7 separate regions of the Homo sapiens genome follow, and all the other regions are linked to region 4. Evidence: promoter capture Hi-C in 16 types of primary human blood cells and fetal thymus (Javierre and others, 2016). All regions are on one chromosome and are shown on one strand. The core of a region is centred on a gene start or on the middle of the fragment in contact, and the rest is flanking DNA. Distances in the headings are between cores, read along the strand shown. Region 1 holds the start of LOC124901603 (a long non-coding RNA gene). Region 2 overlaps SPMIP4 (sperm microtubule inner protein 4). Region 3 overlaps PALS2 (protein associated with LIN7 2, MAGUK p55 family member). Region 4 holds the start of TRA2A (transformer 2 alpha homolog). Region 5 overlaps OSBPL3 (oxysterol binding protein like 3). Region 6 holds the start of PALS2 (protein associated with LIN7 2, MAGUK p55 family member). Region 7 overlaps LOC124901820 (translation initiation factor IF-2-like).

What was found. Contacts are between HindIII fragments. The CHiCAGO score rates a contact against its expected background, and 5 or more counts as called.
Region 1: a fragment that was not itself captured here is called in contact with the fragment with the promoter of TRA2A in region 4 in 1 of 17 cell types (non-activated CD4 T cells); the score reaches 5.5 in non-activated CD4 T cells.
Region 2: a fragment that was not itself captured here is called in contact with the fragment with the promoter of TRA2A in region 4 in 1 of 17 cell types (total CD8 T cells); the score reaches 6.5 in total CD8 T cells.
Region 3: a fragment that was not itself captured here is called in contact with the fragment with the promoter of TRA2A in region 4 in 1 of 17 cell types (non-activated CD4 T cells); the score reaches 5.8 in non-activated CD4 T cells.
Region 5: a fragment that was not itself captured here is called in contact with the fragment with the promoter of TRA2A in region 4 in 1 of 17 cell types (naive CD8 T cells); the score reaches 5.4 in naive CD8 T cells.
Region 6: a contact is called between the fragment with the promoter of PALS2 here and the fragment with the promoter of TRA2A in region 4, in 2 of 17 cell types (naive CD8 T cells and naive CD4 T cells). The highest score is 8.9, in naive CD8 T cells.
Region 7: a contact is called between a fragment that was not itself captured here and the fragment with the promoter of TRA2A in region 4, in 2 of 17 cell types (M1 macrophages and endothelial precursors). The highest score is 6.7, in M1 macrophages.

The regions. Positions count from the first base shown.
Region 1 is chr7:25,152,842-25,155,928 of GRCh38, reverse strand. It overlaps SPMIP4 (sperm microtubule inner protein 4), which reads left to right. Exons shown (of 10, transcript NM_138811.4): 6 at 737-918. It overlaps LOC124901603 (a long non-coding RNA gene), which reads right to left and starts at 1,911. Exons shown (of 3, transcript XR_007060261.1): 1 at 1,862-1,911. The HindIII fragment of the contact is 4,248 bases long and covers 1-3,087 here.
Region 2 is chr7:25,171,524-25,174,660 of GRCh38, reverse strand. The region is part of intron 2 of SPMIP4 (sperm microtubule inner protein 4); the gene reads left to right. The region is part of intron 1 of LOC124901603 (a long non-coding RNA gene); the gene reads right to left. Among named protein-coding and RNA genes, the nearest start is that of SPMIP4, 7.3 kb to the left of the region's middle. The HindIII fragment of the contact is 1,815 bases long and covers 951-2,765 here.
Region 3 is chr7:24,589,141-24,592,193 of GRCh38, reverse strand. All of the region lies in intron 1 of PALS2 (protein associated with LIN7 2, MAGUK p55 family member), which reads right to left. It also overlaps the pseudogene SUMO2P14. Among named protein-coding and RNA genes, the nearest start is that of PALS2, 17 kb to the right of the region's middle. The HindIII fragment of the contact is 2,116 bases long and covers 367-2,482 here.
Region 4 is chr7:23,530,675-23,533,575 of GRCh38, reverse strand. TRA2A (transformer 2 alpha homolog) reads left to right here and starts at 1,595. Exons shown (of 8, transcript NM_013293.5): 1 at 1,595-1,787. The coding sequence starts at 1,752. RefSeq lists enhancers at 357-856, 1,216-1,335, 857-1,358, 1,506-1,725, 1,736-1,785 and 3 more. The HindIII fragment of the contact is 3,554 bases long and covers 430-2,901 here.
Region 5 is chr7:24,817,915-24,820,736 of GRCh38, reverse strand. It overlaps OSBPL3 (oxysterol binding protein like 3), which reads left to right. Exons shown (of 23, transcript NM_015550.4): 17 at 499-562. Among named protein-coding and RNA genes, the nearest start is that of GSDME, 62 kb to the right of the region's middle. The HindIII fragment of the contact is 7,449 bases long and covers 1-2,822 here.
Region 6 is chr7:24,572,162-24,574,985 of GRCh38, reverse strand. PALS2 (protein associated with LIN7 2, MAGUK p55 family member) reads right to left here and starts at 1,534. Exons shown (of 12, transcript NM_001303037.2): 1 at 1,393-1,534. RefSeq lists enhancers at 666-785, 836-885, 831-1,330, 2,196-2,295, 2,316-2,385 and a silencer at 986-2,055. The HindIII fragment of the contact is 6,948 bases long and covers 1-2,824 here.
Region 7 is chr7:24,763,395-24,766,507 of GRCh38, reverse strand. All of the region lies in intron 1 of LOC124901820 (translation initiation factor IF-2-like), which reads left to right. It also overlaps a transcript of GSDME not described here. Among named protein-coding and RNA genes, the nearest start is that of GSDME, 7.5 kb to the right of the region's middle. RefSeq lists an enhancer at 2,884-3,113. The HindIII fragment of the contact is 526 bases long and covers 1,577-2,102 here.

The DNA.
Region 1 (3,087 bases), core at 222-2,721, 1.6 Mb before region 4:
TCTGCTTAATTTTCTTGTTATGAATAACATTTCTCTATCCCATGGACTTCCTAATTTTGCTTTTCTTCTAGTTTAGACAGCTCCCACATGGTTTTTTTTTAACCTCTGCCAGTTCTCCAAATGATAGGAAAATTATATCCCTATGGTCTCTTTAACATGTTTATTTTTTCCTTCAGTGTGCTAGCTGTTTTTGGCTTTTTGATTTTGAAGCAGTACTGTGTATATAAACAGGGGTTATATTTTGTTGATTGTTGATTGTTGATTGATTGCTTAAAGAAACAGATGGCCTGGGTTGAAAGTTCATTCAAAGATGGTTAGAGATCACTTTGCTGAAGCAGAATGCCCAAAACAATTCCTGGGAGCCTCTTAAAATAAGACACAGTAATTAAAAGCAACTATACCATTCTACAAACACAAAACTCATTTATTTTTTGCTTTATATTTTTTATACGAGTTATGAAACTTACTCACTGACAAAGAATTGGGCATGATTTATTTTAAAATTAAATTTAGTTTTGTCTAGCAAAATTAAGAAAATGTCCTGTTTTGTGGTATACATTCCAAGAGAATGCTAATTCCATGAGCACAGGGACATTGACTCACTGTCCTATCCCCCAGCATTAGAACAGTTTCTGCCATTTAAAAAAGGGTCCCAATAAATTTTTGATGATTAATTTTTTCAACCATACTTCTTTCTGTTCTTTTCATTTTGTTTTGTTTCCTCAATAAATCTTAGAGAGATCTGCTTGCCATATCCAATTGAACACCCCTACCACACACACATCTGTCGCGGCGCCATGTTCCCCACCTTCACGTCACCTGAGGACCTCTACACGGGCATTAAAGCCCGCACCCAGCAGCCCTTTCCTCCCACGGTGCCAACCAAGGCTTATGATTCAACAGTTTTGAAGACAAGAGGTAAAATGTGACCTGGAATCAGAACTGTATTAATTCTTATTATTGGGATTTCTTCAATAATAAAATTAAAGCAAGGAGCACAAAGGACTCAAGTCACAAATGTGTGACTCAATAGATCAGGAAACTTGTTCACAGCTGCGACTTTACAAATCAGCTGGCGCGCCACCATGGACCCATCAAATCAGACTCTCTGCAGGTGCTCCCAAACTTTCCCCTTGACACAGCCTCTCATGTTACAATCAGAAACCAAAACGTTGTAGAATTGGTGGTTTTTATTCCACTTCTATTTTCTATTTTTATTTCTTTCCTGCTCTCACGGTTTAGCTTTTAAAAATTTCATCCTAGCCCAGGTGATCAGCACAAGGGACAGTGTTTGCATCAATCACAGAGTCTGGACGTGGATGCAGCAGTGATAGAATTGAAAGATCCCCATTGAAATAAGATGCAGAAAGCAATGGGAGTAGTTTGTTCAGTCCTTCTTAACACCCTGGAGCAGGTTCTCCCAGCTGCAAACCTTGGAGTCTTTGTGAATGTGTTTTATCAGGAATCCCGTACACTAGTCATCGAATCTCTCCCACACTAGACACCTCGGTCTTTGCTGAGGAGTCCTACACATGTGCGTAAACAGAGAGGCCACCTCTGGAGAAAGAGTGAAAACACTTGAGAGAGGGACAGAAATGATACATGGTAGGCAAAGACAAATATTTGTTGAGTGCATTTAGGTGAGGTAGAAAAGACTCAAGAATTGTCCTATCCTGCAGTTCCTCTATACATGAATATTTGGACCAAAATGCAAGGACAGAATATTGCCATCGTCAGCCTCAACCTCGGTGTCTTATTAGCAGACAGTAACGTTTTGAAAGCTAACATAGTGGAATATGTAAGAGCATGGATTCTAGAGTCAGACTGCATGAGTAGAATTCTGGATCTGCCACTTACTCACCTGCGGTCCATGGGAGAGTTTCTGAACTCCTCTGTTCTGCTTCGCAGTCTGCAAAATGGGAATATTATTAATAGAACCTACTTATCAAATAACAGAGATAAATGTTAGCAGTTATTCTCTTACCCTGCTAGCGTATAATGACTGCAGTATGTGTGTACCATGCTGAACTTTCCCATTGCCTCTCAGACTAGGCAGCATTGGAAAAAGGCAGTGAAAGCTGTATCAAGTATACTGGCTGTTAGTATCGAGCACCATGCTTAGCTCTATAGCAGAAGTGGGGAGAGATGGTGCCATGCAAAAGAACTATAAATGTTCTAAAGGAAATGATAAGTATGATACATAAACAAGTAAAATTTTTATGACTTTGTTACGTAAATTGTCAAAGTAGATTTCTTTTTCTCAATCCTGAATTCAGTAATTTCTGAAATTATCTGAAGTACACATAGTTAGCAAGAAATCACAGAAATATGTGTTGAATTCATAACAACACTTTTTTTTTTTTTTGAGACGGAGTCTTGCTCTGTTGCCCAGGCCTAGAGTGCAGTGGCACTTTCTGGAACCTCTGCTTCCCGGGTCCAAGTGATTCTCCTGCCTCAGCCTCCCAAGTAGCAGGGACTATAGGCACGTGCCACCACACCCACCCACCCACCTAGTTTTTGTATTTTTAGTAGAGACAGGGTTTCACCATGTTGGCCAGGCTGGTCTCGAACTCCTGACGTCAAGTGATCTGCCCGCCTCAGCCTCACAAAGTGCTGGGATTACAGGCATGAGCCACCATGGCCAGCCCATAAAAACACTTTTCAGTGCAGTAACATAAGGGACTGAAAAAACAAGTTGTCATCTTAATTTCCTGCTCTTCCAAGCCTCTACCTCTCTCCAACCATTCAGTCACTATTAGGGAATTTTTAAAAGATGAGCATCCTCTAACAACCCTTATAAAAAAATCTTTCCAGGAACTAGTACAGCATTAGGTTTCTACTCTTCCACTTATTTTAATTCTTCTTTATTAGAACTAAGAAGCATGGGCCAGGTGTGGTGGCTCATGCCTGTAATCCTAGCACTTTGGGAGGCCAAAGTGGGCAGATCACTTGAGGCCAGGAGTTCGAGACCAGCCTGGGCAATATGGCAAAACTCTGTCTCTAGTAAAACTACAAAAATTAGCCAGGCCTGGTGGTGCATGCCTGTAGTCCCGGCTAATTGGGAGGCTGAGGCATGAGAATCTCTTG
Region 2 (3,137 bases), core at 609-3,108, 1.6 Mb before region 4:
TTATAGAATTTCATTATCAGTTCCCATTTTGTTTCTGGATTCACTTTGCTGTTGTCCGACTCTTAAAACATTTTTTTAAATAATAGTTATCTGCCAACTAAAAATGCGGGTCATGTTTATCTCGAGCTTTTCTCTAGTCACGCCTCCTAGTAGTTACTGGCTAAATTACTGAATTTGGGGTTTGATGCATAAAATCTTGTACAGTGACTTTAAAATGAAATACTGGCTCATCTATAGGGAATGTGTCCTTTTCAAAAACAAGTAAACAATTTTCTATCGCTAGAGATGGTAGCACCAATAATTTGATAATTATTCTCTTTGTTATAGAGATGTATTTTATTTACATTGAGAACTACTGGGCTAGCAGAAAGGGAGAGAGAGGGAGAGAGACATGGAGAGAGAGTGAGAGAGACAGTGAGAGAGAGGGGGAGGAAAAGAGGGAGAGAGAGAAAGGGAGACGGAGAGAGAGGGGGAAAGAGAAAGGTTTAAAATTTCATTAAAATTATTAAAACATAGCCCTCATTTGGAGTTGGCAGATAACTATCATTTTTTAAAAATGTTTAAGAATCAGAAAGCAATGAAGTGAATCCAGAAACAAATGGGAGCCTATAATGAAATCCTATCATGAAATCCTAAATTATTACATCCTAAAATGTCAATTTTTATTTTAATTTGGTTCCTTCTCTACAATTCTGTGAGTATTAAGGCTAAGGGGAGGGAGACATGATACCTTAAAGTAAGAGGGAAATATGACTTATTTATGCATTGTCTTTTATTTTAAATGATTTCCTGCAACTTTCCAGCTTTAGGTGGATGCCAGCCCAAATGATTGATTAGCATTTTCTACCGGCTCATCTTCTGGGGACGATGTAATATACGGGGGTCAGATGTTGAGAAATTGACTCATTTAGGTTTTGAATGTAACTTTTACAAACTTAGATATTAAAGCTTAGGTTGTCATTAATCAAATGCATTTAAATATTTTTCACTTGTCATGTCCCCCAAATCGTGTCTGTTGATCGTTGTCAGACAGCTAGGGAGGACGTAGAGGTCTGAGAGCTGAATGCCAGCATCCCTTCTGCAGCACCCCAAATCAGTGGGCCCAGGACTCTCCTTGCCTAGCCAGTGCGGGGTTAGCAAACTTTTTTTCTGTAAAGAGCCAGATGGTAAATATTGTAGGCTTTACGGTCTCTGTCCAACTATTCAACTCTGCCATTGTGGGGCAAAAGCAGCCATAGACCGTATGTATATAGTCCATAAATGAATGGTCATGGCTGTATTCCAATAGACTTTTGTTTACAAAAACGGGCAGGGAGTTGGATTTGGCCCATGGGCCATGCTTTGCCAACTCTCAATCTAGTGACTTCACAAGATAATACATTCCACTTATAGTCCTGAGTGTTGCTTCTTCATTCTATTCAACAATTATTACAGGTGGGGGAGGAGGGGTTATGTTAAGCCAAGCACTGTACTGGTAAAGAGAAAAAAGTAGCTCCACAGTCCATACCTCTTTCTCTTTCCCTCTCTCTCTCTTCCTGTCTCTCCCCTTCTCTCTCCCTATCTACCTACCTATCTCCCCTTCTCTTTCCCATTCTCTCCCCCTCTCTCTCCCTCCCTTTTTCTCCCACTTTCTTCCCCCTTCCTTCTCTCGCCCTCCTCCCCCAACCCTTCACCCCACCACCCCCTTCCTCTCCTCCATGTTTCTGACTGGATCCTACTGTTCTCAGGGTATAGTCCAGAGGATTTAGAAGGCCCCACAGGATACTGTCCTTGTTTTCCTCTCATGCTCCACCTCTCACCATGGCCCTTGTCTACATGCCCCAAGTTCTAGAATTCTATATCAACTCTTCTAATATAGTTCAAAATTCAACTCTATTTTCTCAGCCCCTAAGATCTGGGTAAGTTCTACTGAGATCTCAGATCTTTACTCCATGCCTTGTGGAATTCCTCCAAATTTATCCAAGTTCCCAGGACAAGGATAGGGATAGCATTTGAAAGTCTCATGGTCACTTCTGACTTTGGGTTCCTGGTTCCACTTAAAACAACACACTGACCCAGATGTGAAACTCAGTCATCCCTCATTTTTCTCTAAGGACCTTGTCCATGCAGAGCATTTGTGAGCCTGGTAAACTTCACTGAACTGTTGGGGATCAGGAAGGAGAGTCACACCATGCCATGCTACATGTAACCAAAACACCTTGTTAGCCATAACTTCCACATTCTTAAAAGGTCTTTAACCAGCTGTCGCCAAGGGTTTCTCCCTGGGTTTTCAACCAGTGCAGTCCCCAGTAGCCTCACCATCCTGCTGGCTCCTCTCATCTCCCTCTTCCCTTACTCCCCTTTCCTCTCCTCTCCCTCTTTCAAGAGCAAACAAACAAGTTTCTCCCACTGCAGAGCAGTTTAATCAGTCTGAGCTTGCTTGAGCTCCTACCACCACCCATACTTTCAGAGTCTCTGTGTCTGCAAGGGGCTTAACAGAATATTTTACCAAACAAAAGTAATTCTTCCCTAAGAGAGATTCTACACTGAAGTCAACACTGTCAGGAATTTTCCAGTCTATTAAACTCTAGGCCTTTTTACCTGCTATTCCCTTGCATGCCACAGTATTTCTTCTGTTTCCTCTAGATAACTCCTACTCATCCTTTAGAACACATCTTGTGATTTCCCGCAAGAATCCTTCCTACTGAAAGGATTCCTGTTTGTCCTGCAAAGTGCCTTATAGGTATATACCATAATACCAATCCAGGACCACTTAAATCCAAGCTTAAGTTTAGGGTAGATGCAAACTGGGGCCACAGGGGAACTGGTTAACTTCTGACTCACCTTGAACATGAGAGGGTAAGCATTTTAAGGTCCCAGCTTCTTGTGTAGATGGTCTCCTTTAGTTTCCTCACTTGGCTGATTTCCATATCCCTCACCTTAAAACAAAAATGTAAATTTGCCAGGATCAGCCCTGCCCTAAGGGCAGAAGTGGCTTCCCTGCTTGCTTACTTCACTGGGTTCCTATTTACCCTCTATGTAGCACTTATCCCTTTCTGTCTTGTCAAAAAGCTAGTTGTTTTTAAGATTTTTTTTTCTCCTCCCAGTATTTTTAGTTGTTTTCAGTGGGAAGTTTGGTCCAAATAACCTAGGCCGCC
Region 3 (3,053 bases), core at 175-2,674, 1.1 Mb before region 4:
CTTGCTAAAATTTACTTTTAATCCAATAATCGATACTTACAGAGCTTTTGTGGTCATTAGTGGATATGCAGAGTGGTGAAAAATTTGAGTCACCCAACATTGCACAGTCCCAGCTGAGGTGGAAGAAAGCAACACTCTGCTTTCTTGTTTCGGCTCTCATACTAAAAACAAGTATCCTTTTCATAGTTTATTTTGTGCCACTTTTTTTTTTGCATTTTTCTGTTGTTTGTGATTTCACAAAATGGTCCCCAATCATAGCACTGAAGTGCTATCTAGTGTTTCTTTATCATGAAAAGGCTCTGGTGTGCTTTACAGAAAAATGTACATATTAGACAAGCTTTGTTCAGGCATAAGATATGGTAAGCTTGGCTATGAGTACAATGTTAATGAATCAATAATATATAATAAAGTATCTTTAAAGAGAAATACAGATAAAAAAGGCTATATATTGACCAGTTGATGAACATACTGTGACTAAAGGCTTGCAGGAACCTAACCCTGCATTTCCCCTAGAAGCAACACGGCTCAGCATTTGATAATTCTGCATTTGCAGAGACTTTATACACCATAACTATCTTGAATAATGAGAACTATTTTAATTTACATGTCTATCTCTAACACAAAATTAGTGGGTTCACTGAGGATATGGCATTTTATTTATTTTTGTACTCTAATTCTTAGTATTACTCCAGACACATCACATTTAATAAATACTCATTGGATGAAATTTTAAAATTCTGGCTTCTCATCATTGTAATGTGATTTGCTTTATATAGCTAGACTTTATGGTAAGAGCCCACGTATGTCAAGCTACACACTGCCCCCTATCTCAGTGAGGCCTTGCTCAACTGCATAATGGTCTGAATGTCATCCTCCATTCCTGACCCTGTCCCTCTTTTACAGCCAAAGACTATGCTTTTTAAATTCAAACTTAAAATGACAGTTAAATGGAAAGGTATTTACATTGATTTTTCCTAAGGTCAGTTGGTCCTAATAGACATAGTATACCTCAAAACTATTAGACACACTTCCAGTTAAAGTGGAAGACTGAACACACATGCCTATGTTCCCTCCCTCCTGAGGTCCCACTGAAATGACAAAACAGGTATGTAATTTTAAAAAAGAATAAAACAGCACTAATACTGGAGGGGAGGTGAGACAAAAATAAAAGAGAAAGAGATTAGCAAACCAGAAGTTTAGGAACTGCTTAGAAGTTAGAAAACAGATAAGAAAGGCTTGCTGGTTTGGCAAAGAAGGTACCCTTGAAAATCTGAAAATAATTCTCTCACAAAACATCTAAAAATGCAAAATAAAATACTGAAAACATCCCCTCAAAAAAAAAAAAAAAGTCCCCAAGAATATCCCTGTGAGCCAATATGAAGGGGAAAAAACAAACTAGTAAGTAGGTACTGAAGTTATGACTGCCCTGGGGTGTTTAGGATTTCAGTAACCAGGAGTTCAGAAGCTGCCATTTAGGCCCTGGCCTGTTCAAGATGAAAAATGCAACTTAGACCTTCCCACATGAAGCTGAGACCTTATAGGACTAACCCCTACTTTGTAAGAGTAGTCTAATAAAAACATGCCTGTTGGCCAAGGAAGACAATAAGGAAGTTGGCCTGTCTCAGATTGGACTCCATATTAGCAGAAAAAAATATCACCTGAGAATTAGTAATCACAGCCTACTCTCAAGGATTCAGGGTTCCAAATATACCTACCTGCCTAGTTCAGAACACCCCAAGCAGAGAAACTACGAAGTGGTCTTGGGTCAGTGGCTTCCACAGGTGCCAAAGAAAAGCCTTGGCAAACCTTGGAAAGAATGTGTCCTCTAACTGGGCTGCACAGAATTTCCTCCAATAAAACCCAGCGAAGCAAGAGCACACAATTCAAAAATCATCAAACAGTAACAAAAAGACAGGTAGCTGAAAACACAAGAAAGTAAGACTATCAGGAAAGAAAGCAGGTAAGATTGAAAAATCTTATCATCTAAGACTTTAGAAGTAAGCACAGTTCCTCCCAAGTGGACTTTCTCTGGGCCTCCCTCAAGAAGTCTGTGCGCACTTAAATATTCTTTTATACTAGAGTCAATACTTACTGTGTGAAATTGAAAACATAAACATATGCTTTCTAAGATGTATGTTTTTTAAAATTAGCATACCACCTCTCCCCAGTGAGCATTTGGAAATGTACTAGGCCATTTTTGATTGTCTCAGTAACTGTGGTAGAAAACCAAATATTAAGGGACACTAAACACTGAGTAGTGTTCAGGTCAGGACAATCCTGCATTGCAAAGTATAGTACTGCCAAAAATGCCAGTCATGAATTGAGAACCACTTTACTAATATAACTAAATCTGAAACTACTAACCATGATTAACTCTATGAAGTAAGAGTAGGGATAGAAACCTTTAACTTTCATGGTACATTCATTCTTCCATGCTGATTTTAACTTTGCATGTCATGTAGCATTAATAATTTTAAAAGCTTAATTAAAAATAAATTGATCATAAATAAGTAATGGGATGAGAGAACTATGTTACTCATTAACCAACATAAATTCCTCCCTCCAGGTACACTAGCTTGTTCAGAGCATTAACAATACAGAAATGCATTTGACTGCCCTGAAATTTCTACACTCAGAAAAGTAGTCTCTTCACACACTTAAATATTTCTTAGGTAAAATATCTCCAGAATTAAAACAGGCTTACTTACTAATGCTGGTTGTGTGCACATACATGAGGTACCTGAAACTTCTTTCGAGAAGCAGCAGCTGCAACAGTAATGCTTTCCATGGCTGACAAAAAGCCCAAGAAAGGAGTCAAGACCCAAAAAAATAACCATATAGAGTTGCAGTGGTGGGGTGGAATGGTTCAGTGGTACAGCTCCAGAGTATATCACTTAGCAAACTAATGAGAGCCTATTGTTAACAACTGATCTATCAATGAGGCAACTTGGTTTTGGATGTGATGGGAGGCCAATTAATGAAACACCTGTACAGGTGAAAATGGAAGATGAAGATATAATTGATGTGTATACAAAGCAGACAGGAAGTATCTA
Region 4 (2,901 bases), core at 346-2,845:
TCTTTTGTAGAGATGGGGGCTCACCATGTTGACCAGGCTGGTTTCGAACTTCTGGCCTCAAGCGATCTTCCGCCTAGGGTCTCCAAAGTACTGGGATTACAGGCGTCAGCCACCACACCCAGCCAAGTTCAACATCTTTTCTAAGAGCCAGATGTCATTTAAGTTTATCCCTATCAATAACTGACATTCAAATGCTGAAATCTTGCCCCCAGTGGTAGCAATCTTCATAATAATGCCAGATGAACTTTCCTACCATAGAACTATAGTTGAAAGTCTATGTCAATCTTTTTACTACAAAGCACTGTAGGAAAAAAATTTAAGATGAAACTAATTTTTAAAGTTGCATTACACAAGTAAAACTCATCTCAGAGATTATTACTATGATTGGGAACCAAGTTGACAGATTTGGGAGGTCTTCACTGTGAAGCTTTATGGAAATATCTAAGTCAAAAAAACTAGTAGGGAGCTAAGCATTATAAAAAAAAAACTACACGGCTGTCTCTAGGAGGGGGAACTGGAGCAGGGACACGAGGCAAGGAGCAGCGGCTTTGCATCATAACCTCATCTGTGCATGTACTACGTCGACATTACACAGGGCAAATATGGAAGAAAAGTAATACAGTCAGCTGACAACGTGCCCCCCAAAAGCCTGTTATATATACACGATTCCAGCCGGGCGCGGTGGCTCAGGCCTGTAATCTCAGCACTTTGGGAGGCCGAGGCGAGCAGATCGCTTGAGTCCACAAATTCGAGACCAGCCTGGGCAGCATGTCAAAACCCCATCTCTGCAAAACACACAAAAATTAGCCGGGTGGGCCGGGTACGGTGGTTCACCCTTGCAATCTCAGCACTTTGAGAGGCCCAGGCGGGCAAATCACCTGAGGTCAGGAGTTTGAGACCAGCCTGTCCAACATGGTGAAACCCCCGTCTCTGCTAAAAATACAAAAATTAGCCGGGCGTGGTGGTGCATGCCTGTAATCCCAGCTACTGGGGAGGCTGAGGCAGGAGAATTGCTTGAACCTGCGAGGTGGAGGTTGCAATGAACCTAGATAGCGCCACTGCACTTCAGCCTGGGCAACAGAGTGAGACTCCGTCCCAAAAAAGAAAAAAATTAGCCGGGCGTGGTGGCGCGCGCGGGAGCCTGAGGTGGGAGGATCGTCTGAGCCCGGGAGTTTGAGGCTGTGGTGAGCAGTGATCGCTTCACTGCACTTCAGCTTGGGTGACAGAGCGAGACCCTGACTCAAAAAATAAACAAACATAAAAAAACGCTTCCAATGTTTTGTTCCCTTACATCAGAATCCACTTGGACAATATTTAAAGGGGCTAAGGTCATATAAGGCTCATCTGGCGACTGAAAAGTCTTCAAAGAGGTTGACGCGTCCGAGGTGAGTCTGAAGTTTGGAGGACAGCACGGGACCGCGATTCCAAGGCGCCCAGGTTGAGAGCGCAGGCCGCCCGCCAACCTCCACCCTCGCTCCAGGCCCAGCCGACACAAAGCCTCGCGGGAGGTGGAGCCTCGTGACGTCACAGAGACGCCCGCCCCCTTTACGTCGTGCTCTGAGGAGGCCAGGAGATTTCTGGCGGCGCCGGCGCCATTTTGCTGGAGCCTGCGACCGAGTGGGAGTGGAGTGGAGCGGCTGTGGTTGCCGACTCTTTCCTCTTCCCCACGGTCCAGTCAGCGGGTTAATTAGGCCATCGGCCCTCGAGCCGAGACTTGTCTCTTATTTAGTTCTGGGGAGCGCCTCGTCGACATGAGTGATGTGGAGGAAAACAACTTCGAGGGCAGAGTGAGTACAAAGCCGCGGGAGCCGTCTAGGCGGCGGCCCAATGCTCGGGGTTTCACGGGAACAAGCGCGGTCGGGCGGGGTTGCGGGTAGTCCCGCGAGGAGCAACCTCTGGAGCCATCGCGATTGATTCCTCCCATCCCAAGATGGCTTCTGGGTTCCACTCCTTCCCCAAACACCACGGATAACACCCCTCCCCCTTTTTTGGAGGCTGACTGATACCTGGACTTCTGGGTCCTCTTCCCTCCCCGCCCCCGCATTGCTTCCTCCCTTCTCCCCACCCCTGAGGCTTCCTTATGTCTGCTCCGAGGTGTGGGTCCCCGTCGCGGTTGGGCGGGAGGAGGCGGCAGGGAGCTCCCCTCCGTCCGGATAGTGGTAGGTGCTTCCTGCGGTGGCATTTCTGGCGACCCCGAGCATCGTAGAGGGTCTCGGGATCGAAAGTGCGCGGGGCTGCTTTCCGGGCGGGGAGAAGCTGGCGTGGGACTAGCTGGGGCCTGTGTCTCCTTGGCTCTCTATTTCAGTGAGCGGCCGCGTCTCTGTTGGAACCGGCGGCGTTGCGTCTAAAAAGGCGAAAGCCTTGAGGTTGAAGGTGGGACGAGCCTAATGAAGTGGTTAGTCAACGACCGCACCGACCCTTAAGCGTTCTTAAGACGAGAGCTGTGAGGGGAAACTACGCAAGGAGCCCTTTTCCCTTAATGTCCCTTCGACTTTCCTTTCACTTCGAAATGAATGTGGAAATGCTGTCACGCCTTATTTTTCTAATTCCTCGATGTTGGGTTTTTTCTCTTCTTTATATCTCAACTTTTAATGCTCTTCTTCCTATGACCTTTCATCTAAAAACTGACCACTCCTTTACAGGTTTTTACGGTAAAAAAAAAAAAATCTGTCTTTCTTTAATCTTACATAGCTGAACGAATTCATTGGCTCAGTATTTTTAAGATAACTAGTCAGTATATACTGTTCTGTAACTTAAAAGATGACCTGAAAATTAACAGGCCCTCTCCCATTTCTCTTCTCACTCTATCCCCCACCGAAGAGGGCTCAGAAAAAAGTTTTTATTAATATATTTGGGGTCGGAGAAATACAAACATCACAAAGAATACGATATCCCCAGCTT
Region 5 (2,822 bases), core at 210-2,709, 1.3 Mb before region 4:
GCAGAGTTTTCAAGAGTTAAATTGGCTGAGCCCGAGGAAGAACATTTTGGGTTGCATTTAAAATACTTGTTATTTGATATCTTAATTAAAACATCTGCAGCTACTTTCAGAACAGCTAATAAGAGATGTTGACATTGGTAGCCAATGTCAGATTATATGTTATGGATGAGCAGTCCTCACATGTCTCCGTTTTTATTTTTATGTCTTTCAAAATGCGCCTCTATCCTCATCACTCGCCACCTGGCCGCCCTCCCACGGAGGCTTCTGGAGGCTTCCGTTCAAGGGCCTTCCCCTCAGCCTTGACCAATCTGAGCAAGTGGGAGCTGACTGTATCAGGAGCGCCCTCTTGAGGACACACTTGATGAGGGAAACTAAAGAAGTTTTTCCTTCAGTTCAGCATTGCACGCTGTTACATCTCAGTGCAGGGGAGAAAGAATGGATTTCATGAGACACAAAAGTTCATTCATTTTTTGTTTTTCTGTCCTTTGTTTCCATCAGGTCAGCCACCATCCGCCTATCTCTGCGTGTCATGCTGAGTCTAGAAATTTTGTTTTCTGGCAAGGTAATGTGCTAATACATTTTACTTCCATCATATTGTGTAATATGTTATCTATTTATTTTATCCAAGAATTGCTGTCAATTCTTACTGAGATCAAAAGTGGTCCTTGGATTTGGGCCTGGTTGGAAGGATCTGCGCCACCTGTTCTTGCCTCTCATCTCTCACTTAGTTTATCTGAGCCACCTCCATTTATTTCTGTAACTTTATCTTATGTAAAAATCATTTGAAATGCCTCACATATTTCAAGAGACATTAAATATTTACAGTTGTTTATCAGAGTGTAGACAGCAGAGGGGTTTTCAGCTTTTGTCAAACTTAAATTTTATTTCTGAAGTCGTGTTTTACATTGCTTACTTCTTTTCATTTTTGAGATGATTGTTCCTAAAATTTTGTTCAGTTTATATTTTGAGTTGGGGTTGGGTGGGTAAATCTTCTAAAGAATAAATAAGGCTATAGATATTTCCTAGATGGATTAATTTTGTTAATCTCTCAATTTATTAAAAAAAAGTGTACTGTAGAAGGAACATATAAGCATCCTAGGTTTTTGGACAGTGAGCACATATACATTTTAAAAATATTTTTCTCTGCTACTAGTGATATCACACGTTACCTTTACACACACAGGCACACACACACACGCAGTCTATTAAACTTTAAAAGTACGAAACAGTATACTGTAACCCCCTTCCCCAGCCACTCAGTTTCTCTCTTTGGAGGCAATCAGTATTTCCAGTTTAAAGTGACAAGTACCATGGTTTTCTTTCTTCACCTTTGCTATTAAAGTTTAAAATTAAAACTGCTCTCTCACCAAAACCCTCTGGAAATATTCTCATAAGGTTCCTAGCCTCCTAATTGGTAAATCTCACTCATGCTATAAGCACCTCTTCTTTGTTTTTTCAAAAGTTGGATTTTTTTTTTTTTTTTTTGAAATGGAGTCTCAGTCTGTTGCTAGGCTGGAGTGCAGTGGTGCGATCTCGGCTCACTGCAACCTCCGTCTCCCGTGTTCAAGTGATTCTCCTGTCTCAGCCTCCCGAGTAGCTGGGACTACAGGCATGCGCCACTATGCCCAGCTAATTTTTGTATTTTTAGTAGAGATGGGGTTTCACCATGTTGGCCAGGATGGTCTTGATCTCTTGACCTTGTGATCCGCCTGCCTCGGCCTCCCAAAATGCTGGGATTACAGGCATGAGCCACTGCGCCCAGCCAAAAGTTGGATTTTTTTTTAATGCGAGGGGTCTTCTCAAAGTAGTTTTGTGTGCTCCTGTGTTACATCCTTCCCTTCTCAGCCTTAGCATCCTTCTCCTAGGCCATACTTCCCCATCAGCCTTTTCCTGAGCAATCTACCTATTTCCATGGGCCTAGGATTCCCAAATCTTGCTTTGTAACCCAGCCTGACATTTCTCTGCCTTTTATGTAGGTTGTGTAAACCATTTCCGTTTGTTGTGATTGTAGATGTAGCTGGGCTTAAATCTGCCCTCATGATGTTTCTTTTCTGTTTGTCACATCTGTTCTTTGTTCTCCGTTTCCTCTTTCTCTGCCTTTTGGATTGAATAATTTCTATCATTCTCTTTCATCTCCCCTGTTAGCTTATTAGCTATACTTACCTGTTTTGTTTCTTGTTAAAGTTGTTACTTTAGGATTTATGTTATATATTTTTAATATCATCAAATAATATTATGCCAGTTTCATATAGTGAGATTTACAGAAGTATACTTCCATTTTCCCTTCCCAACCTCTCTACTATTTTTTCATACGTCTTCTGTATATCATAAACCATGTAGTACATTGTTAATACTTTAGCTTTAAACAGCCATCTATCTTTTTTTTCTCTTGGTAACAATTTTATGAACATATAACTTATATACCATATCATTCACCCGTGTAAAGTGTACAATTCAATGGTTTTTATTCACAGAATTGTGAATTTAATAAACTGTGCAGTTATCAGCACAGTTAATTTTAGAACATTTTCATCACTCCAAAAAGAATCCTCTTTAGCAAATATTATCCACCCCCTCTGCCACCTGCCCCATTTCTCTCAATATTCCCCAGCCTATAAATGTGCCTGTTTGGGGCATTTTATATAAATAGGATTAAACAATATGAGGCCCACTGTGCTCGCTGGTCCCAGACCCACCTCTCTCACCTGGACCCCAGCCAGGGCTCCCCACTGTCCCCCCTGCTTCAACCCTGATTTCCCTGTGATCTGTAGATCCTCAGTGCAGCAGCCAGATGGGATCCTCTTGCTGTTCTTTTTCTATTT
Region 6 (2,824 bases), core at 285-2,784, 1.0 Mb before region 4:
CTGTTAACAAGGCCTCAGAAGACATAACTATAATCAGGCCTACTACCCACTACCCTATCATTGCACAGTAGATGCCTACAATAAGCAATATTACTTGAGGTCCGTTGCTATACCTATATACGGAAACTATATACCGCATTACTAAAAATGTTACTTCGCCTGGTATATTCGACCAACATAAGTTTACAAATGATTTGCAAAATTTCACGGGAAGAAATGGCTGCTAAATCATACTCCAATTGAAACGCATTTTAACGCACCCCAAACGTTCTCAGCTACACTACAAGACCACTTGTAATATACTTGAAGCACAAAGTAAAATTCCAACACTCTCCAAAGGCGTAGGAAAGAATAAAACGTGGCTAGCCTGACCTTACCCGGCTGTTTATAAGTAATGCGGAGAATTTTCTGAGCTTCCCCGGCAGTCTTCAATTCTCTCCCTCGCTTCACCCCCACCCCCTACACAGATGCACACCCAACTGATGGAAGTTTAACAAATGTAATCTCGAGCTGCAATCCCAGAAACTGGTAGGATTGAGAATAAACTCCCAGTAAAGTGTTAAAAAGTCCTTCTGCAAAAAAACATCTACCAACCAATCCACATCCTGTCACCACACGGTCGGATACCTCAATCGACTCCCCTGCTGACCCTCCACCCAGCCAAAATAAAAAAGCCCCAGCACCTATTTGGTTTCAGACAAACGTACCGAGAATCCGCGAGCACGATCTCAGCAGCGAACGCCCCCGCGGCAGCCTGTGCTCGGCCCACAGCCACTTTGGCCAAACAACTGGAGTCTCGTACCTCGGAAGTAGCGGCGGTAGTTGGAGAAAGCCTCCTCCCCTACCAACTCCGAGCTCGGGAGAGAACCGGGAGCCGGCGGAATCACCCCCTCTCGGGACAGACCCCGGAGGTGTCAGTCACAGCAACGCCGCCCCCAGGCCGGCTCTCCATTCAGGCTCCACCGCGACTCCCGCCGCAGAGGTGTAGGCACCCAAGCCCCGCGCCCGAAGGGGCCCCGCGCGTCTGCGGCCCTAGCCCCAGTCGGGGCCGCGCCGGGGAGCGCGTGGGGAGCGGCGGCAAGCAGCATGGGCCAGACACGTTGCCGAGCTCCGGCCCGCCCAGCCGCCCGCAGCCAGAGAGGCAGGAGCCCGGCCGAGCGCCCCTTCCGCGCGGGCCGGGCTGGGGGCGGCCAGCAGCCTCCCCGACCGCGGCGCCGCCGCCGCCGCCTGCCGGTCCCTCTTCCCCGCGCCCGCCGAAGCCCAGGTGCCGAGGGGGGCGGGGCGGGCCAGGGTCCCCGCGTGGCGCGCCGCGCCGAGCAACAGGGCGCCCCCGGCCGGCCCGGCGCGCGGCGCGACCGTTACCCGAGCGGCGTGGGGGTCCAGTTAACTCACCGGCTCGCACCTCAGCCGCCTCCGCGCCGCCGCTGCCGCCGCTCCCGGTCGCTCCCCGCCGCCGCTGCTCTCCCTCAGCCACAGGCGCCGCCGAGCAGCCCCATCTGCAAACTCGTGGCTCGTAGTTGAGAACTGGAAATGCGTCTCTCACTGCCCTCCGCCTCCCTCTCTCTCCTCCCCCTCCCTCGCTCCCCACTCTGCCCCAGCTCCGGTCGCCCCCGCCGCTGCCTCCGCGCGCGCAGCCAGCCGCGCCTCAGCCGCCCTCCTCCTCCTCCTCCTCCTCCTCCTCCTCCTCCAGCCGCCGCCGCCGCCGCCGCTTGGGCGCGCTCCCAGCCGGCCTCGCGCGTGCGCCGGACGTCGGGGAGCGCGCGCTCGGGCGCGAGGAGGTGCCACCGCCTCCGGAAAGCCGGGCCCCGCCCCTCCCGCCGCGGCTGGGCGCCCAGGTGGAGCCCCCTCCCAGCTTCTGAGCGCCCAGACTGACTGCGCTCTGCGCCCGGCCGGCTCGCTTCAGGGGTCCCGGACCTGCGCCCGCGAGAGAGGGCTGGTCGGACCCAGTCCCCGCCGGGTCTCCTGGGCCGAAGTCGCAGCTGTCTGTCAGCATTTACGGGTGGGCAAGATACTCCTCGGGGCATAAAACAGGCTCCGCCCTGACCTTTCTGAGAGTTTTACATTCAAGAACCCAGTCGTGGGGCACAAAAGAGAAATGGAACGAGAAGAAAAGCCTCTGGAAAAATCTCCCCCTCCCCCTTCACAGACTCCACTGGATCTGATGTGTATTTGGCAGGTTCTACGGCGCTGACTGTGTCCTTCATTAATTTTTTCCCAAAGGCCCGACCGGGCAGTGTGATTCACACCCGAGGAAATGCATGGACACTGGCTCTTTTCATAGCACCGAGGCTCCCGTGGAACTCCCTGGGTCGGCTTTGCCAGACACTCCCTGGACACAGTTGTTCAGCTCCTCCCCAGCACCTGGGCTTCCCAGACCTCAAAAGGGTGGGGTTGGGGAGGGCATGCCATCCTTTCAGCCTGGACTCTGCGTAGAGCTTGGTGAACTGTGATGAGTGTCCGGATGTGTAGATGACACATTTTGACAGAAGTGCAGATTTAATTTTTCAGTTGAAAGGAACTGAGCAATGCACTGCAGCAGAGACTTCTGGCTAGAAAAACATAGCAAGGCAGCCAGAGAACTTCCGATCCCCTTAAAAGAGCTCTGTGAACCCTCAGACCTGTGACAGGCGGCTTTTGGAAAAACTATTGTGTTCTTCCTAAAATTGAAGAATGTAATTTACATTTTACAAAATGCTTACTGCAATCTTTTCAAACCATGAACGTAGAAAGTGCAAGTCAAACTTTACGTGTGAGGAGTGTTATGAGGTGGCCTCCTCTGTGCAGCCTTTCCTGGCTTCTCTTGGGCACCTTGCACAAACCAGAC
Region 7 (3,113 bases), core at 590-3,089, 1.2 Mb before region 4:
ATGGACACAGGGAGGGCAACGTCACACACCGGGGCCTGTCGGTGGGTGTGAGTCTAGGGGAGGGAGAGCATTAGGAGAAATGCCTAATGTAGATGATGGGTTGATGGGTGCAGCACACCACCATGACACATGTATACCTGTGTAACAAACCTGCACATCTGCACATGTACCCCAGAACTTAAAGTATAATGAATAAATAAATAAATAAATAAATAAAGTGTTGTGCAGGGTCTGGATTTTATTAAAAGCAAAATGAATGAGTATAGGCTGACTGTGAAAACAGGCAAACATGCACACACACACACACACACACACACACACACAAATAATGTAATTTAATATCATGGCCATAGAAATCACTAGACTGAACTACAGGAGTTGTTTTAGGAGTCACTAACCTAGAGAACATTTAAGAACAGAAGAAATAATCTGTTTTCAGTGAATGAATATTAATTTACCTAAAGGTAAAAATATGGACTTTGAGGTTTATGTTTAAATGTTTGATGTCTTCCCCAGATTTACCCATTAGGCAGTAATCAAAAGTTAGGGCATGGAACTCAGATCTGAGTTCAGATCCTCATATATATTGTGCCAGATTTATAGGCTGCCTCTCTAGGATTCAGTTTTTGCCATCTGTAAAATAGGGACAATAATAATTTATAGAGTTGTACAAAGATCCAATGAAATGATGTATATAAAGGATCATGCTGGACAAAAATAAGCAATCCAAAAAATGTGGGTATTATAGATATCTAACTTGGTGCTATTAAAAGAAAAACTTTAGATAAATGAACTTTAACAGAGTTTAATTGAGCAAAGAATGATTCTTGCCTCAGGCAGCTCCCAGAACCAGAATAGGTTCAGAGCAACTCTGGGGCTGCCACATGTCTGGATAACATTGAAGGACAGAAAAAGGGCAGTGACGTACAGAAAAGGGGAGTGACGTACAGAAACAGTTGGTTTGGGCACAGCTGCACAGCTGCCTTATTTCAACATTGGGTTGAGCAGTTGGCCTGTGATTGGCTGAACTGTAACCTAACACATCCAGTGAGGTTACAGTTCACTATACCCGGAGCAACCTTTAGGCTGAACTTGAAATACTAAGGAGGGAGCTTTAGGCTAAACAATTTAACAGTGCCCATTGTTCTAACTAAGCTAAAAATAGCGAAGTTGTGGAATAATTTCATATTAATTTTCTTTTTGTAAACTTTTTGTCCATTTTCGACAAGAAAGGATCCGTATCGACATTTAAAACTTAATGGGATTGTTTATTGCACTGTGACTTCTCTAGGGGCTATTTATACCTCAAGTCTATTTCTAATTCTAGAATGTAAGGCTAATCATTCCTAGAGAGGAGGTCCAGCATTACCCGGGGCCAGGCTTTTTGGTGAGCAAGGAGAGGTGAGAAATGGATTTGGGGAACTTTGAAGCATGCTTGCTCAGCCTTCTCTGTGAGGCCCTAATCAAAGGCTGGTCTTTCTATGGTATGTTTCCCCAAAACTCCCTCTGCCAAGTCAGAATTGCTGGGACCTTTTAAAGCTTTTTCAGCACGTCACTCCTCTAGTGGTTGTAAGCTTCTTAAAGGCAGGAATCCAGATTTATTCAGGTACACAGTAGGCACTCAACAGTATTTGTAAAATGGAATGGAATTCCAGGGAATCAGAAACTAATAATCATAGCTACCATTTATCAAGTATCTGCTGGTATATCTAATCACAGTAACTCAGTGAGCTAGGCGTGATTATTCCCACTTTCCAGATAAGGAAGTGGAGGTTTGGAATAGTGGTGACAGCAAGTAAGAGGCAGAGTTGGAACTCAAACGTAGCATTTGCACCAACTCCAAAATCATCAAACAGCCATGTCTTAGTTGGCTGCCCACACTGACACTGGGATTTGCTTGGTTTGGGGTGGTGTTGATTTTTTATTGTTTTTTAATATAAGAAAGTTAGCAAAAGAAGATGGATTTACTTGCAGAAAGCAAGCTGACTTGATTTCTGAAGTCCCTGTGTGCCCATTCCCACTGGATGTCTAGACTCCTTACAGAGATGGAGCCTCAGAATGAAATGACAGGTACAGTTCTTTGGGGGAGAAAAAAAGAAGCTTGAAGGTTTCAACATATAGTATTAGAAAAAAATTCCATTTCTACCAACAGTTTGAAACGAAAGCTTTCATGATATCACAGGTGCCTAAGGTGACAGAAGCTCTACTTGCAGGGTTGTTTTCTTTTCCATCATTCAGACCAAACACATTTATTACACTGGTGCTTTTAGCAATCAGTCAAGATTGAGTCAGGTGCCAGGATAATTTTCCTTGCCAAATTGCTTTTTCCATTGCAATTAGTCTTTTTAAGGACCTTACCAAACAACAAGTGTGTACACAATTCTCATACTCCCCTTCCAATTATAACTCAGCTAAGAAGTTGTATCAGTAATAAATTGTTATAGATGAAAACATCAACCACACCCACTCTATCACCAGTCTCTCCCTGTATTCTTAGATAACTCTTGGAATCAGGTGTAAGATTAAGAACGGCTCGTTTTAAAAAACAGAATGTATTATACAATCCAAAAATATGTCATTTAAATCAGTTCAGCTGTCTGGTTTACCCTAGTTGGGATTCTTTACAAAAGCTCTGGGCTTGGCCATCACCTATTTGCCCTCTAAAATTATTTTGTACAAAGCTGTGTCGGCCACTGCTCTCGAAACCCAGTTCCTTTTTTTCCGGAGCACAAAGACTACATTTTCCAGCCTGTCTTGCAATTAGGAGAGACTCTGTGACTGATTTCTGGCCAAAGGAAGGTACAGTAGGCTCCCTTTATCTGCAGTTTCACTTTTTGTGGTTTCAGTTACCCACTATCAGTCTCCATCCAAAAATATTAAATGGAAATTTCCAGAAATAAGCAATTCATAAATTTTACATTTGTGCTATTCTGAGTAGCATGATGAAATCTCATGCTGTCTTGCCCTGTCCTCTCCAATGACACAAATCATCCCTTGTCCAGCATATCCATGCTGTCTACACGCCTGCCTGCTGGTCACTTTGTGGCCATCTAGGTTATCAGATTGGCTGTCATGACATTGCAGTGTTTGAGTTGGATCACCCTTATTTTATC